Regions from separate parts of the Homo sapiens genome. Here region 2 is linked to region 1. Evidence: promoter capture Hi-C in human tissues and cell types (Jung and others, 2019). All regions are on one chromosome and are shown on one strand. The core of a region is centred on a gene start or on the middle of the fragment in contact, and the rest is flanking DNA. Distances in the headings are between cores, read along the strand shown.

Evidence for each region. Contacts are between HindIII fragments. The study calls those that stand out against the background at their distance.
Region 2: a fragment that was not itself captured here is called in contact with the fragment with the promoter of ACOX1 in region 1 in 1 of the 25 tissues and cell types used here (dorsolateral prefrontal cortex).

Annotation. Positions count from the first base shown.
Region 1 is chr17:75,975,938-75,983,068 of GRCh38, forward strand. ACOX1 (acyl-CoA oxidase 1) reads right to left here and starts at 3,229. Exons shown (of 14, transcript NM_004035.7): 1 at 3,028-3,229; 2 at 2,597-2,756. The coding sequence starts at 3,136. It overlaps TEN1 (TEN1 subunit of CST complex), which reads left to right and starts at 3,303. Exons shown (of 4, transcript NM_001113324.3): 1 at 3,303-3,574. It overlaps TEN1-CDK3 (TEN1-CDK3 readthrough (NMD candidate)), which reads left to right and starts at 3,280. Exons shown (of 10, transcript NR_037709.1): 1 at 3,280-3,574. RefSeq lists enhancers at 2,403-2,986, 2,892-3,121, 2,987-3,570, 3,692-3,791 and a silencer at 3,202-3,271. The HindIII fragment of the contact is 12,830 bases long and covers 1-4,308 here.
Region 2 is chr17:76,744,209-76,751,339 of GRCh38, forward strand. MFSD11 (major facilitator superfamily domain containing 11) reads left to right here. Exons shown (of 13, transcript NM_001242532.5): 7 at 114-258. Among named protein-coding and RNA genes, the nearest start is that of MFSD11, 9.7 kb to the left of the region's middle. The HindIII fragment of the contact is 3,168 bases long and covers 3,089-6,256 here.

The DNA.
Region 1 (7,131 bases), core at 1,979-4,478:
AGAAAAGAAAAGAAAGAAAGAAAGAAAAGAAAAGAAAGAAAGGTGATGTATTTCACAATTAATAGCATGTCACGGTTAACTGGCAGCATTCTTTCTTTCTTAGTGGTACACAAAACACTGGTGTGAGTTATAATCGATGAGATTATATAACCGAGGCTTTAACTCGATAGCATGCGATAATTTCCAGGACTCATTTACAAACCCCTTCTCTTACTTAAAAACTGATCTCCTTGTCATATCCTAAGGACATTGGAAGTGTGTCAAAGGGTGTGTTAAAGTTTGTACTTTAATACTTCACATGAAAAATGATACACAAAACAACTTCCCGGTGTCCATGAATCTTTAACCCGCATAAAAGACTTTGTTCTATTTCATTGTGACCTCACTCGAGTCTGGTTCACATTATCAACAGGTCACAGGTTATGAAATCATCTCTATCAGCTTTGAAATGCACTGCACCACCCATTCAAACACACACACACACACTCAACCCACTTTTTTCCTGACGTTTCAAGAAGGAATAAAATCTTACTAATTTTTTCAAATTTACAAACACAACACAGGTATCAGTAACATAATCTTCTAGGAGGAGTTACTCTATCTCAATATCCCCACAGCCATGAGTTACAAACTTCAAAAACAAAACAGACCATTTGGAAGTATGCTGATTTGAACTACCAAAAATAAATAAACAAAATTTTTTCGTTTAAAACTGAGTGGAGCTCTGAGGAAAGTCCAAAGTGCCAGAGTAAACCATTTCATCTTCACAAAAATAACCCAAGTCAAGCTGAAAATCGATACCAAAGGCACTAGAGGCAGTGACCATTATTACCATAAAGGCAGAACGTGCAACATGTTCTATTTAGCTTGGTTCTAGTCTATACACCACTCATACGATTTAGTCTTTACCGATGAAAATACTGGAGTTCCTTTAAAATGGAGAAACCTAAAAGAGAAAATGCCCAGGAATAAATGAGAAAAAAATGCTATAGGCCAAAATAATCTTGTACTAGGATCATGTAATAGTGTTTGTTTAGGTTAAGGCAAAAAAGTCTTTTTTTTTTTTTTTTTTTTTTTTGAGACAGAGTCTCTCTTTGTTGCCCAGTCTGGAGTGCAGTGGCGTGATCTCGGCTCAGTGCAGCCTTTGCCTCCCAGGTTCAAGGGATTCTCCTGCCTCAGCCTCCTGAATAGCTGGGACCCCAGAAGCGCACCACCAGGCCCGGCTAATTTTTGTATTTTTAGTAGAGAGAGTTTCACCATTTTGGCCAGGCTGGTCTCGAGCTCCTGGCCTCAAGTGATCCACCTGCCTTGGCTTCCCAAAGTGCTGAGATTACAGGCATGAGCCACTGTGCCCGGCCCGAAGTCCTTATTTTTATTTATTTTTACCGTTCCTTGTGGAGCAGGGTGGATCACGAGGTGAGGAGTTTGAGACCAGCCTGGCAACATGGCGAAACCCCATCTCTACTAAAAATACAAAAATTAGCCGGGTGTGGTGGCGGGCGCCTGTAATCCCAGCTACTCAGGAGGCTGAAGCAGGAGAATCGCTTGAATCCGGGAGGTGGAGGCTGGAGTGAGCCGAGATCGTGCCACTGCACTGCAGCCTGGGCGACAGAGCGAGACTCCGTCTCAAAAAACAAAAACAAAAACAAAAAACACAACAAAACACATGGTCTGAAAAAAGGATATACTCTCTTCCACACTAGAACCAAGGCAGGTTTTTATGACGTCTCTCTCATATGCACAAGACAACCATTCAAGCACTGTCATGGATTCAGAACTACTGGGTTCTTAGACTTTCTATTCATTCAGAGGCGTCACAGATCATTCTTCATCCAGGTCCACACTACCATATAATATAATCTGCTATTGCTCCAAAATATTTAAATGGTCGTGCAACTAAAAAAAAAAATGCTCCCAGATTCAGAATTTTAGCAGTCCTCCTTACAAAGAGCAAAATGATTCTGCATTTAAATCAGTCAAATTTGAGTTGCTTGGGCAGAACAATGCTTTTACAACATCCTTGAAACTGTACTCTTGAGAACAAAAACTCCTGCATTTCCATTTATTATCAGCATTCTACAAACACGTCATCCCACGAAAAGGCTTGGATACAAAAGTGATCACATTATTTTTCACACATATAACTTTATTTATTTATTTATTTATTTATTTTTTGAGATGGAGTCTCGCACTCTTGCCCAGGCTGGAGTGCAGTGGCGCGATCTCGGCTCACTGCAAGCTCCGCCTCCCTAGTTCACGCTATTCTCCTGCCTCAGCCTCCCGAGTAGCTGGAACTACAGGCGCCCGCCACCACGCCCGGCTAATTTTTGTATTTTCAGTAGAGATGGGGTTTCACCGTGTTAGCCAGAATGGTCTCGATCTCCTGACTTGGTGATCCGCCCGCCTCGGCCTCCCAAAGTGCTGGGATTACAGGCGTGAGCCACCGCGCCCGGCCACACATATAACTTTATAAAGTTGCATGAAAATATGCCAGTTTGCATCTTCAAACACCAAGCACGGTGATGAAAGGCCACCATAGACCGCAGCTGTAAAGTTTAGGCTTAACAACACTTGCTCTGTTCTAAGGCATACCTACTTTTTAAACCACATAATTTCATCAGGGTCAGCGATGCCAAACTCCCTCATCTTCTTCACCATGATGGCACTTTTCCTGACAGCCACCTCATAACGCTGGCTGCGAGTGAGGAAGTTCAAGTCCTCATGCTGGAAGTCTGGGTCGTTCAGGATCATGTTCTCTGAAAGGGGGTTAAAGGGCATTAAAAGGCAGACAGACACTCGGGCCTCCGTTCCACCCTCCCTGAATCACAATAGGCTTCAGAGTCGCGGACACACCTGGGGAATGGCGATATCCCCCCACCAGGGACACAGGCTGTTCCTCGAAGTGGGGGTCCCGGCTCCCCTAACGCTGGGCCAGAGGGCCTAGGCCCCACAGCGCCCCTGACTCCGCATCGAGGGAGTCTCCAGCTTTTCTCGGGAAAGGAGGGAGGTCTCGCCCGCCGCCCTCACCGATCTCTCGGCGGCGCCGGGTTTTCTCGGGGCTGCCGTCCAGGATGTGTGTAAGCAGCTCCGGGTTGAAGCTGGCGGAATCCCGCTCCCTGCGCAGGTCCGGGTTCATGGCGACGACCAGCTGGCAGCGAAGTAAGCACCGACCGAGGTGGCAGTGACAATCTAAATCCGCAGCTCCAGCGCCGGCCGGACCCTAGGAGGCAGCCTCAGGACGGCGCAAGTCCCCGCCTCCGCTCGCCCGGCCCGCCCCGGCCCGCCCCTTCTTTCTCCGTGGCCCTTTGGCGCGTGAGTGACAGCGGCCCAGACAGAGGGGGCGATGTCCGCGTCGTGGCTGGGGCCGGTCGCGGGGCAGACTAATCCCCTGCTCCTGGCCAGGGGAGGCTCCCGAGCGGATCCTCGGGAAAGGGGCTCCGAAGGTCAAGAAACTGCCCTGCTGGGCGTCCGGGGAGTGGGAAAATAAAGCACTTTTTGTATCCCGCCCCTCCCCCGTCACGTGACCACGCGAGGCGGAAAGAAGAAATCCGAGGACCGGCGACGCCTAGAACAGGTTGGCTGGGGCCTTGGGAAGGGGGCGGGACAACGAGGCTGAGGAGGGATTGCGCCTGCACTTGCCCCCCTCTTACCCCGCGGCCTCTGTCACGCTTCCGGGTCCGTGCCCCTAGGCCTCTCCGAAATGAGAGTGGTCGGGAGACTCTGGAGTCTGGGGCGGGAGATGGGGCTTTGCGGAATTGCTAGGGAGGGTCACTTGGGCTTTTGCCAAATCCACCCGGATTGGAGAAGAATGGGACGGGAACCAGTCTCTTTGGGGAGAGGCTCCAGTTACCTTTTGTTAAGATAATGGCGTCTTTACTGGCAGAGGCGTGGGTTCCGGGGCCCTGGGTGTGGGATTGTGAGCGCTGTTCAAGGGGTGGACGGGGACTTAGAATGAGACCAAGCGGGCGGTGCTGCTCTAAGCCTTCTGTCTGGGAAACCAGACATTTTCCCCCGCAACCTGGCAGTTACTAGAGGTCTTGGAATCCAGACTTCTTTGCTTTCGCCATCACCGTCATCAAAGTGGGAAATGCACACTTACTGTTAAAACCTAGTGTAGGGCCGGGCGCGGTGGCTCACGCCTGGAATCCCAGCACTTTGGGAGGACGAGGCGGGCGTATCACTTGAGCCCAGGAGTTCAAGACCAGCCTGGGCAACATGGCAAAACCCCATCCCTACAAAAAATACCAAAAAATTAGCTGGGTGTAGTGGCATGCGCCTGTAGTCCCAGCTACTCTGAAGGCTGAGATGGGATGGTGGCTTGAGCCCCGGAGGTGGAGGTTGCGGTGAGCCAAGATTGTGACATTGCACTCCATCCTGGGCAACATAGTGAGACCCTGTCTCTACAGAAAAAAAACAAAAAACAAAAACAGTTCTGCCCAGTGGGATTGTAGACAAGGGAGATTCAGGGATTTGTTGAATCATCTCTAGTCATTTTTTTTTTTTTTCTTGAGACGGAGTCTCGCTCTGTCGCCCAGGCTGCAGTGTGGTGGTATGATCTCAGCTCATTGCAACCTCCACCCCCTGGGTTCAAGCGATTCTCCTATCTCAGCCTCCCGAGTAGCTGGGATTATAGGGGCTCGCCACCACACCCAGCTAATTGTATTTTTAGTAGAGACAGGATTTTGCCATGTTGGCCAGGCTGGTCTCGAATTCCTGACCTGTTGATCCACCTGCCTCGGCCTCCCAAAGCGCCGGGATTACAGGCGTGAGCCGCTGCGCCTAGCCTGTCTGTAGTCTGTGTAATACTATGACTTTGGTTTTCTCAGAAGTAAAACTACGAGAGATGCATAACATTCATAATTTGAATAATAGAACTATAATACACACTCTTAACCCCTAGGACCTCAGGATCCTCATTTGTCTTATTAAGCTGCTGATCTCAGGCCCCTTCAACAGCAGAGAGGGTGTCTAGTTTATTCTCTGTACCTGGCACAGTGCCTGCCCCGCTAAAGGTGCTCAGGAAATCTTTGTGGAGTGAACAAATGGCTGCTTGACAGCTGACCTTCTAGTTCTAATATTCTAGGAAACCAATTGCTCTTAATGTAACAATGATAAGGGGTGTACTTAGCATTGAATAGAAAAGACTTAGATGAAGAGCTAAATTTGCTGAGTTTTTATTTTGAAATAATTTCAAATTTACACGAGAATTACAAGAATAGAACAAAGAACTTTTCTTCTGTGACTTTAACGCTTTTTTTTTTTCTTTTGAGATGATGTCTTCCTCTGTCACCCAGGCTGGAGTGCAGTTGCATGATTTCAGCTCACTGCAACCTCCGCCTCCTGGGTTCAAATGATTCTCATGCCTCAGCCTCCAGAGTAGCTGGGACTACAGGAATGTACTACCACACTTGGCTAATTTTTGTGTCTTTATTAGAGGCAGGGTTTCACTATGTTGACCAGGCTGGTCTCCAACTCCTGGCCTCATGTGATCCGCTCGCCTCAGCCTTCCAAAGTGCTGAGATTACAGGCGTGAGCCACTGCGCCTGGCTGGCTGACATTAACACTTTTGAAGTGTATAAGCCCATTGTTTTGTAGTGTTGGGTCTCAGAAAACAATACCCCAAAATGAAGGCCTCAGAAGCAACCCACAAAGCAAGTTGTTTTTTTTTTTTTTTTTACCTTCTGTCCTCCTCTCCCTCAGGTGCATTCTCCCCCGAGCCTAGCCAGAGAAGTTAGAATCCTCTTCCCCAAGGCAGGTCATAGAAAACAGAGTCATTTACCCCCAAAGCCAGCCATAAAACCCTAAATATAAGCTGGGTGCGGTGGCTCACGCCTATAATCCTGGCACTTTGGGAGGCCAAGGCAGGTGGATAGCGAGGTCAGGAGATCGAGACCATCCTGGCTAACACGGTGAAACCCCGTCTCTACTAAAAATACAAAAAAAGCCGAGCGAGGTGCCATGTGCCTGTAGTCCCGGCTACTCGGGAGTCTGAGGCAGGAGAATCGCTTGAACCGGGGAGGCAGAGGTTGCAGTGAGCCGAGATTGCACCACTGCATTCCAGCCTGGGCGACAGAGTGAGACTCTGTCTCAAAAAACAAACAAAAAAAACCCTAAATATATTACTCTTAACTTTCCCTCCTTCTTTTGGTGTAAAAACTGGCCAAAAAGAAATTATCTGACCTAGCTTGTTTGACTGTAGGCCATAAGACTCCATTCCAGAGAGGGTCCTCCCCCACACCCAGAAGGAAGGAATGCCTGTTCCAAGAGGCCAAGAAGAATCTAGACAGACAGGCCTTGCTGGGCCTCCCCACTCAGTCTATCAGCATTAGATCATACCTTTTATGTTCAATCATTTGCATAAAAATGTACAATTTCCCCTGTATCTTTGGGTCTTCCTTCTGAAGGCTCCCATATGTACATGTTACATAAATTTGTACACATTTTTGACTATTACTCTGCCTTTTGTAAGTTGATTTTTTGCAGCGAAACTTCAGAGGGCCCCTTGGCACCTACAGTAGAATGTCCCTTAATTCAGATTTGTCTGATATTTCTTCATGATTAGATTCAGATGATGCATTTTTGGCAGGAATACCACACAAGTGATTAATAGGAGAAAAGGCATACACATGTATTTGATCATAGTTTTGCTTTGTTTTGTTTTGTTTGAGACAAGGCCTTGCTCTGTCACCCAGACTAGAATGCAGTGGCGCAACCATAGTTCACTGCAGCCTCAAACTCTTAGGCTCAAGCATTGATCATAGTTTTATTTATTTATTTATTTATTATTTTTTCAGGCAGAGTCTCACTCTGTCGCCCAGGCTGGAGTGCAGTGGCATGATCTCGGCTCACTGCAGCCTCCGCCTCCCGGGTTCAAGCAATTCTGCTGCCTTAGCCTTCCCTGTAGCTGGGATTACAGGCACCCGCCATCATGCCTGGCTAATTTTTGTATTTTTAGTAGAGACGGGGTGTCACCACATTGGCCAGGCTAGTCTCGAACTCCTGACCTCAAGTGATCTGCCCGCCTTGGCTCAAAAAAAAAAAAAAGAAAGAAAAAAGGAAGAGGCCCGGTGAGGTGTCTCACGCCTGTAGTCCCAACACTCTGGGAGGCCGAGGTGGGTGGATCACCTGAGG
Region 2 (7,131 bases), core at 3,423-5,922, 770 kb after region 1:
AGTAAAAATGTAACGAGGAAGTGTGTTGACAGTTGTAAGCAGCCCTTGTACCGTGATACTAATTCTGGAATTGTTTGGTCGATACTATCTTGTTTCTTCTTTTTTCTCCGTAGAGAGTGACCGAAGAACAGTGTTTATTGCCCTAACGGTGATTAGCCTTGTGGGGACAGTTCTATTCTTTCTCATTCGGAAACCAGATTCTGAAAATGTCCTAGGAGAAGATGAGTCTTCTGATGACCAGGACATGGAAGTCAACGAGTAAGATGTTGGAAACATTCTATTTTATTTTAAAATAGATTTTGAGTAGATCTAGTCTAGAGATTACCAACCCGTTTAGCCCTAACTGATGTCCAGTACTCTCTGTAGGTTACCACAGGCAAGAAAAGGAAGAAAATAAAGGAGGAGCTGCGAGGGAGGAAGAAAAAAAAGGTCACCAGAGGAAGGGAGGTGGTGAAAAGGTGCACAGGGAAGTTGAGTCTGTTCCTGGCCTTGCCACTGATGTGTGTGACCCTGGACAGTGGCAGCAATTCCTTTCATGTCTCCAGGCCTCAGCTTTCTCACTCAATCCATATGTTTCCATGGGCAAGGAAATAGAAGGCAGTGTTGACCTTGGTTACTGTTTCTGTGATCCAGCTCTAAAGCTTTCCTGTTCTTGTGGTGTGAGTGAGTGGCAGGGCCAGTGATGGTTGTCACAGATGAACCTTGGTTATCACTAGGCTCTTGCTTATGGTGTCCGGCTCTTGCACTAACTTACATAGGCGGTTTTCCCCAGAGTGGTCCAAATAGGGGAATGAGTATACAACCCTGTGTTTTGTAAAAATTGTAAATTACCTAAGCACATTTCAGTTTCAGGTGACACTATTTAAGCATGACAGGCTAGTGATCTGCAGTATCATTTAGATTTGAGGAAGGAGAGATGAGAAATTAATCTCTGCCACCCTTGTTTTGCTTTGTTTGTGATACATTGTGAAGATTGCCTTATAGCATTTTATATATTGTTAAAACTTTCGCATTGAGCATCCCATGCTGACTTTGTAATCCAGAAAGGGCCTAAAATTGTCCAGTCATAGGAGCATTAGATGCTCCAGATTTGCAGTAAGTTTGTGTAAAGCAGAAGCAAGGCAGCGCTTTGGTCTGGATATGCTGCCATGCCCTGCTTTCTTGCTCTTTATTGTGCTTCACAGACACTGGGTTTTTTACAAATTGAAGGCTTGTGGCAACCCTGCATCGAGTAAGTCTTTCTCTCCATACCACTTTTCCAACAGCGTGTGGTCACTTTGTGTCTCTCTGTCACATTTTGGTAATTCTCACAATACTTCAAACATTTCATTCTTATGACATCTGTTATAAGATGTGATCGGTAATCTTTGATGTTACTATTGCAATTGTTTTGGGGCACCACAAACCAGATCCATATAAGGTGGTGAACTTAATTGATAAATGTTGTGTGTGTTCTGACTGTTCCACTGCAGGCCATCCCCCATCTCCCTCCCTCTTCTCCTGAGACACAGCAATATTGAAATTAGGCCAGTTAATGACCCTACAATAGCCTCTATGTGTTAAAGTGAAAGGAAGACATGCATGTCTCTCACTTTATTATTTACTTATTTATTTATTTATTTATTTATTTATTTTTTGAGACGGAGTCTCGCTCTGTCACCCAAGCTGGAGTGCAGTGGCATGATCTCGGCTCACTGCAGCCTCTGCCTCAGCCTCCCAAGTAGCTGGGATTACAGGCATGCACCACCACACCCGGCTAATGACTAATCAAGAAATGACTAAGCTTAGCAAGGAAGACATGTAGAAAGCTGAGACAGGCTGAAAGCTATGCCTCTTGTGCCAAACAGCCAAGTTGTGAATGCAAAGGAAAAGTTTTTGAAGGGACTCAAAAGAGCTACTCCAGGGAACACACGAATGATAAGAAAGTGAAACAGCCTTATTGCTGATACGGAGAAAGTTTTAGTGGTCTGGATAGAAGATCAACCCAGCCACAACATTCTCTGAAGCCTAATCCAGAGCAAGTCCCTCTCTTCAATTCTGTGAAGGCTGAGAGACGTGAGGAATCTTTAGAAGAAAAATTTGAAGCTAGCAGAGGTTGGTTCGTGAGGATCAAGGAAAGAAACCATCTCCATGACATAAAAGTGCAAGGTGAAACAGCAAGTGCTGCTGGAGAAGCTGCAGCAAGTTATCCAGAAGATCTGGCCATTATAATTGACAAACGTAGCTGCACTAAACAACAGGTTTTCAATGTAGACCAAACAGTCTTACATTAAAAGATGCCATCTAGGAATTTTATAGCTAGAGAGAAGTTAATGCCGGGCTTTAAACCTTCAAAGAACAGGCCGACTCTTGTTAGGGGATAATGCAGCTAATGACTTGAAGTTGAAGCCAGTGCTCATTTACCATTCCAGAAACCCTATGACCCTTAAGAATCATGCTTAATCTACTCTGCCTGGGCTCTAGAAATGCAGTGACAAAGCCTGGATGGTAGCACATTTGTTTACGGCATGGCTTATTGACTATTTTAAGCCCACTGTTGAGACCTACTGCTCAGAAGAAAAGGTTCCTCTCAAAATATTACTGCTTATTGACAATGTACCTGATCAGCCAAGTGCTTTGTTGGAGGTGTACAAGGAGATGAATGTTGTTTTCATGCCTTCTAACAACATGTGTTCTGCAGCCCCTGGATCAAGGAGTAATTTCCATTTTTTTTTTTTTGAGACAAAGTCTTGCTCTGTCACCCAGGCTGGAGTGCAGTGGCGGGATCTCGGCTCACTGCAACCTCTGCCTCCCGGGTTCAAGAGATTCCTCCTGCCTCAGCCTCCTCAGTAACTGGCATTACAGGCGTGCACCACCATGCCTGGCTAATTTCAACTTTCAAGTCTTATTATTTAAGAAATACATTTCATGAGGATATAGCTGCCATAGATAATGATTCTTCAGATCTAAGCAAAGTAAATTGTAAACCTTTTGAGAAGGAGTCATCATTCTAGGTAGGTCACATTAAGAACATCTGTGCCTGGGGCTGGGTACAGTGGCTCACGCCTGTAATCCCAGCACTTTGGGAGGCTGAGGCAGGTGGATTGTTTGGGCTTAGGAGTTTGAGACCAGACGGGGCAACATGGTGAAACTTTTTTTTTTTTTGAGATGGAGTCTCACTTTTTCACCCAGGCTGGAGTGCAATGGCGTAGTCTTGGCTCACTGCAACCTCTGCTTCCCAGGTTCAAGTGATTCTTCCGCCTCAGCCTCCCGAGTAGCTGGGACTACAGGCACATGCCACCATACCCAGCTAATTTTTGTATTTTTAGTAGAGACGGGGCTTCACTATGTTGGGCAGGCTGGTCTCGAACTCCTGACCTCGTGATCCACCCGCCTTGGCCTCCCAAAGTGCTGGGATTACAGGCGTGAGCCACCGCGCCTGGCAAAACATTTTGTTTTAAAGCACAAACCAGTAGTTACTGGAGAAGGAGTCTGTGAAAGTGAATACCACAAATTCAATGAAAACTGACCCCCCCATTCAGCCAGCACATGTTTGGTGTTGGTCCTAGAGGACAAATGCCGCCCATCCCTGTTTTTAAGGAACTGCCAAGTTGGGGAGGTGGATGAGGGGTTCTGTAACTGTGAGCTGGCGTTCTTCTAGAAATACTGCTCAGCCTTTGTAGCATTCTCTCTTCCTGAATCGTCTCCTAAATTTGGAGCTTCTGTGTCTTTGTTCTACAAATAGCACAGACTTGTGGCAGCCCTCTTCTATGCCTGAGGGATATAGGCGTGAACAAGACAGATAAGTCCTTGTTCTTACGGGACTTAATTTTAGAGGGGGTGGTAGACAATGCACGTGTAAGAAAATAGCAAAGTGAGTGTTAGGAAGACTGTGAAAGAGGGGGAGAGTGGGGGGGAGGGGGGAGAGTGGGGTGGCTCCCTGAGACGTGGCTGGTGAGACATGAAGGTCAGCGGGTGGCCTTTGCCAAAGCCAGGCAGTGGGAAGGGCGTGGTGGGCTCTGGTCTCCAAGAAGGAAGAAGTGGAAGCAGTAGACAGGGTCAGATTATGTAAGCCAAGATAGGAGGTTTGTGTTTTCTTCTTAGTGTGATTAGAAGCTGTTGAGGGTATAAGTAGAATTCTGTTTTAAAGGTTCCCACCTAAAGGCCTCACAGAAAAAGATTTGAAGAGGTCCAAAGAGACAGCTCTGTCTGTCTTCTGGCTGGGCACAGTGGCTCCTGCCTGTAATCCCAGCACCTTGGGAGGCTGAGGCAAGAAGATCGCTTGAGCCCTGTTTGAAATCAGCCTGGGCAACATAGCAAGACCTAGTCTCTACTTAAAAAAAAAAAAAATGAGCCAGGTGTGGTGGTGCACGCCTGTAGTCCCAGCTACTTGAGAGGCCGAGGTAGGGGGAAGCTTCAGCAAAGGGATTCAAGGTTGCAGTGAGCTGTGGTCACGCCGCTGCACTCCAGCATGGGCAACAGAGCAAGACCCTGTCTTAAAAAAAAAAAATCTGTCCTCTATCTCAAGTGCGTAATTTGCATCTCTGAGGACTTATTAGCTGGGTGATCTCTGGGTGTTTCTTCATTGGCAGTTACTTCTATCCTCCTTCTCCCCTCCTCCCTGTATTCTTTCCTTCCTCTCTTCTTTCCTCCCTCTATCCTTTCACTTCTTACCTTCCTGCATTCATCCTTTCTTTCCCTTCCCTCTCTCCCACCCTCCCTTCCTCTCTCCCTTCTTTTCTTCCTTCCCCTATATTTGAGGTTCTCTGATATTCCAAGCATTGTGCTAAATAAAACAGAAGTTTGTGCATTCATGGAGCTTACTTTCTAGTTGGTGACAGAGAGAAAAGAAACAGGCAGGTTTTAAAAATAGCTTTATTGAGATATAACTCATATACTATATAATTCACCCATCTAAAGTATACACTTCAGTGCTTTTGAGTATATTCACAGAGTTGTGCGTCCATCATTGAAACCAATTTTAGAATATTTTATGAATACTTTTATTACCCCAAAAAGGAGCCACAGGATGAATGTGATGGCCCATGCTTGGCCTGTGGTTCCTTTTCCAGGTAATAAAAATCATAGCACTTTGGGAGGCCGAGACAGGCGGATTGCTTGAACCCAGGAATTTGAGATTAGCCTGAGCAACATGGCGAAACACCATCTCTACCAAAAAAAAAATACAAAAATTAATCAGGCATGGTGGCGCATGTCTGTGCTCCCAGCTACTTGAGAGACTGAGGTGGGAGAATCGCTTACGCCCAGGACGCGGAGGTTGCAGTGAGCCAAGATAATCACACCACCACACTCCAGCCTGGGTGACAGGGAGAGAGCCTGTCTCAAAAAAAAAAAGAAGAAGAAGGAACAATGTATGCTGTAGCCTATCTCCATATGGTTCTTGAAATAAAAAAATAAAGCAGGCTGGGCACGGTGACTTAAACCTGTAATTCCAGCACTTTGGGAGGCCGAGGTGGGCGGATCACGAGGTCAGGAGATCGAGACCATCCTGGCCAACATGGTGAAACTCCGTCTCTACTAAAAATACAAAAATTAGCCTGGTGTGGTGGTGTGTGCCTGTAATCCCAGCTACTCAGGAGGCTGAGGTAGGAGAATCGCTTGAACCAGGGAGTTGGAGGTGGCAGTGAGCCAAGATTGCACCGCAGCACTCCAGCCTGGGCGATAGAGTGAGACTCCTTCTCAAAAAAAAAAAAAAAAAGCAGAGAAGCAATAGAGAAATATGAGGGTGGGAGGTGGAAGGGGAGCTGTTGCAGTTACAGAGTTGGGAAGGCTGAGAAAGTAACATTTAAGTCAGGGCCTGAAAGAGGTGAGCCAGGTGTGGCTTTTACCTGGAGTGGGATGGTAAGCCATTGGAGGGTTCGAGAGAGGACTGACAGTGGTCTAACTTAAATGGTAAATAACTCACTGAATTAAATTGGAAGTGATTTGCAGCTGAATTATTGTATTTTAGTCGTCTGTAGAGTATAAATCAGTTAATTGGGGCCTGAAGGGTAAAATATTGGAATCCTACATGGGATCCTATCCAAGTATAAAATGAGGGTACTACCAAATGATGGCATCTAAATAGTATTTGCTTCCGGGCAAGGCATGAGTTTTATGATGAGGAAAAAAGTTTTCTTGCTGGTTAGAGCACACTATTTTTTTGTGTGTTAGTAATTTTTTTTTTTTTTTTTTTTTTGAGACAGAGTCTCACTCTGTCGCCCAGGCTGGAGTGCAGTGGCGCAAACTCGGCTCCGCCTCCCGGGTGCACGCCATTCTCCTGTCTCAGCCTCCTGAGTAGCTGGGACTACAGGCTCCTGCCACACGCCCGGCTAATTTTTTGTATTTTTAGTAGAGACTGAGTTTCACTGTGTTAGCCAGGATGGTCTCGATCTCCTGACCTCGTGATCCGCCCACCTCAGCCTCCCAAAGTGCTGGGATTACAGGCGTGAGCCACCGCGCCTGGCCGAGCTTTAGAAATTTTTTAACTTAATTGGATCACCATTAGATTCCTTTTATTTCTTAAGTTAACAAGATCTTCTTTACATTACTTTTTTTTGGTAAAAATGCCATTTAGAGATATAGGAGTAGACTTGGCTATTAGGATAGGAAATGTAATCTTTTTTTTTTTTTTGATACGGAGTCTCGCTCTCTCACCCAGGCTGGAGTGCAGTGACACGGTCTAGGCTCACTGAAACCTCCGCCTTCCATGTTCAAGTGATTCTGCTGCCTCGGCCTCCCAAGTAGCTGGGATTACAGGCACCTGCCACACCTGGCTAATTTTTGTATTTTTAGTAGAGGTGGGGTTTCACCATGTTGGCCAGGCTGGTCTCAAACTCCTTACCTCAAGTGATCCACCCGCCTTGGCCTCCCAGAGTGCTGGGATTACAGGATAGAAATGTAATCTTTTAAAAATCTTTTGGCTGGGTGCAGTGGCTCACACCTGTAATCCCAGCACTTTGGGAGGCCGAGGCGGGCGGGTCACGAGGTCAGGAGATCGAGACTATCCTGGCTAACACGGTGAAACCCATCTCTACTAAAAATACAAAAAAATTAGCCAGGCGTAGTGGCAGGCGCCTGTAGTCCCAGCTACTTGGGAGGCTGAGGCAGGAGAATGGCGTGAACCTGGGAGGTGGAGATTGCAGTGAGCTG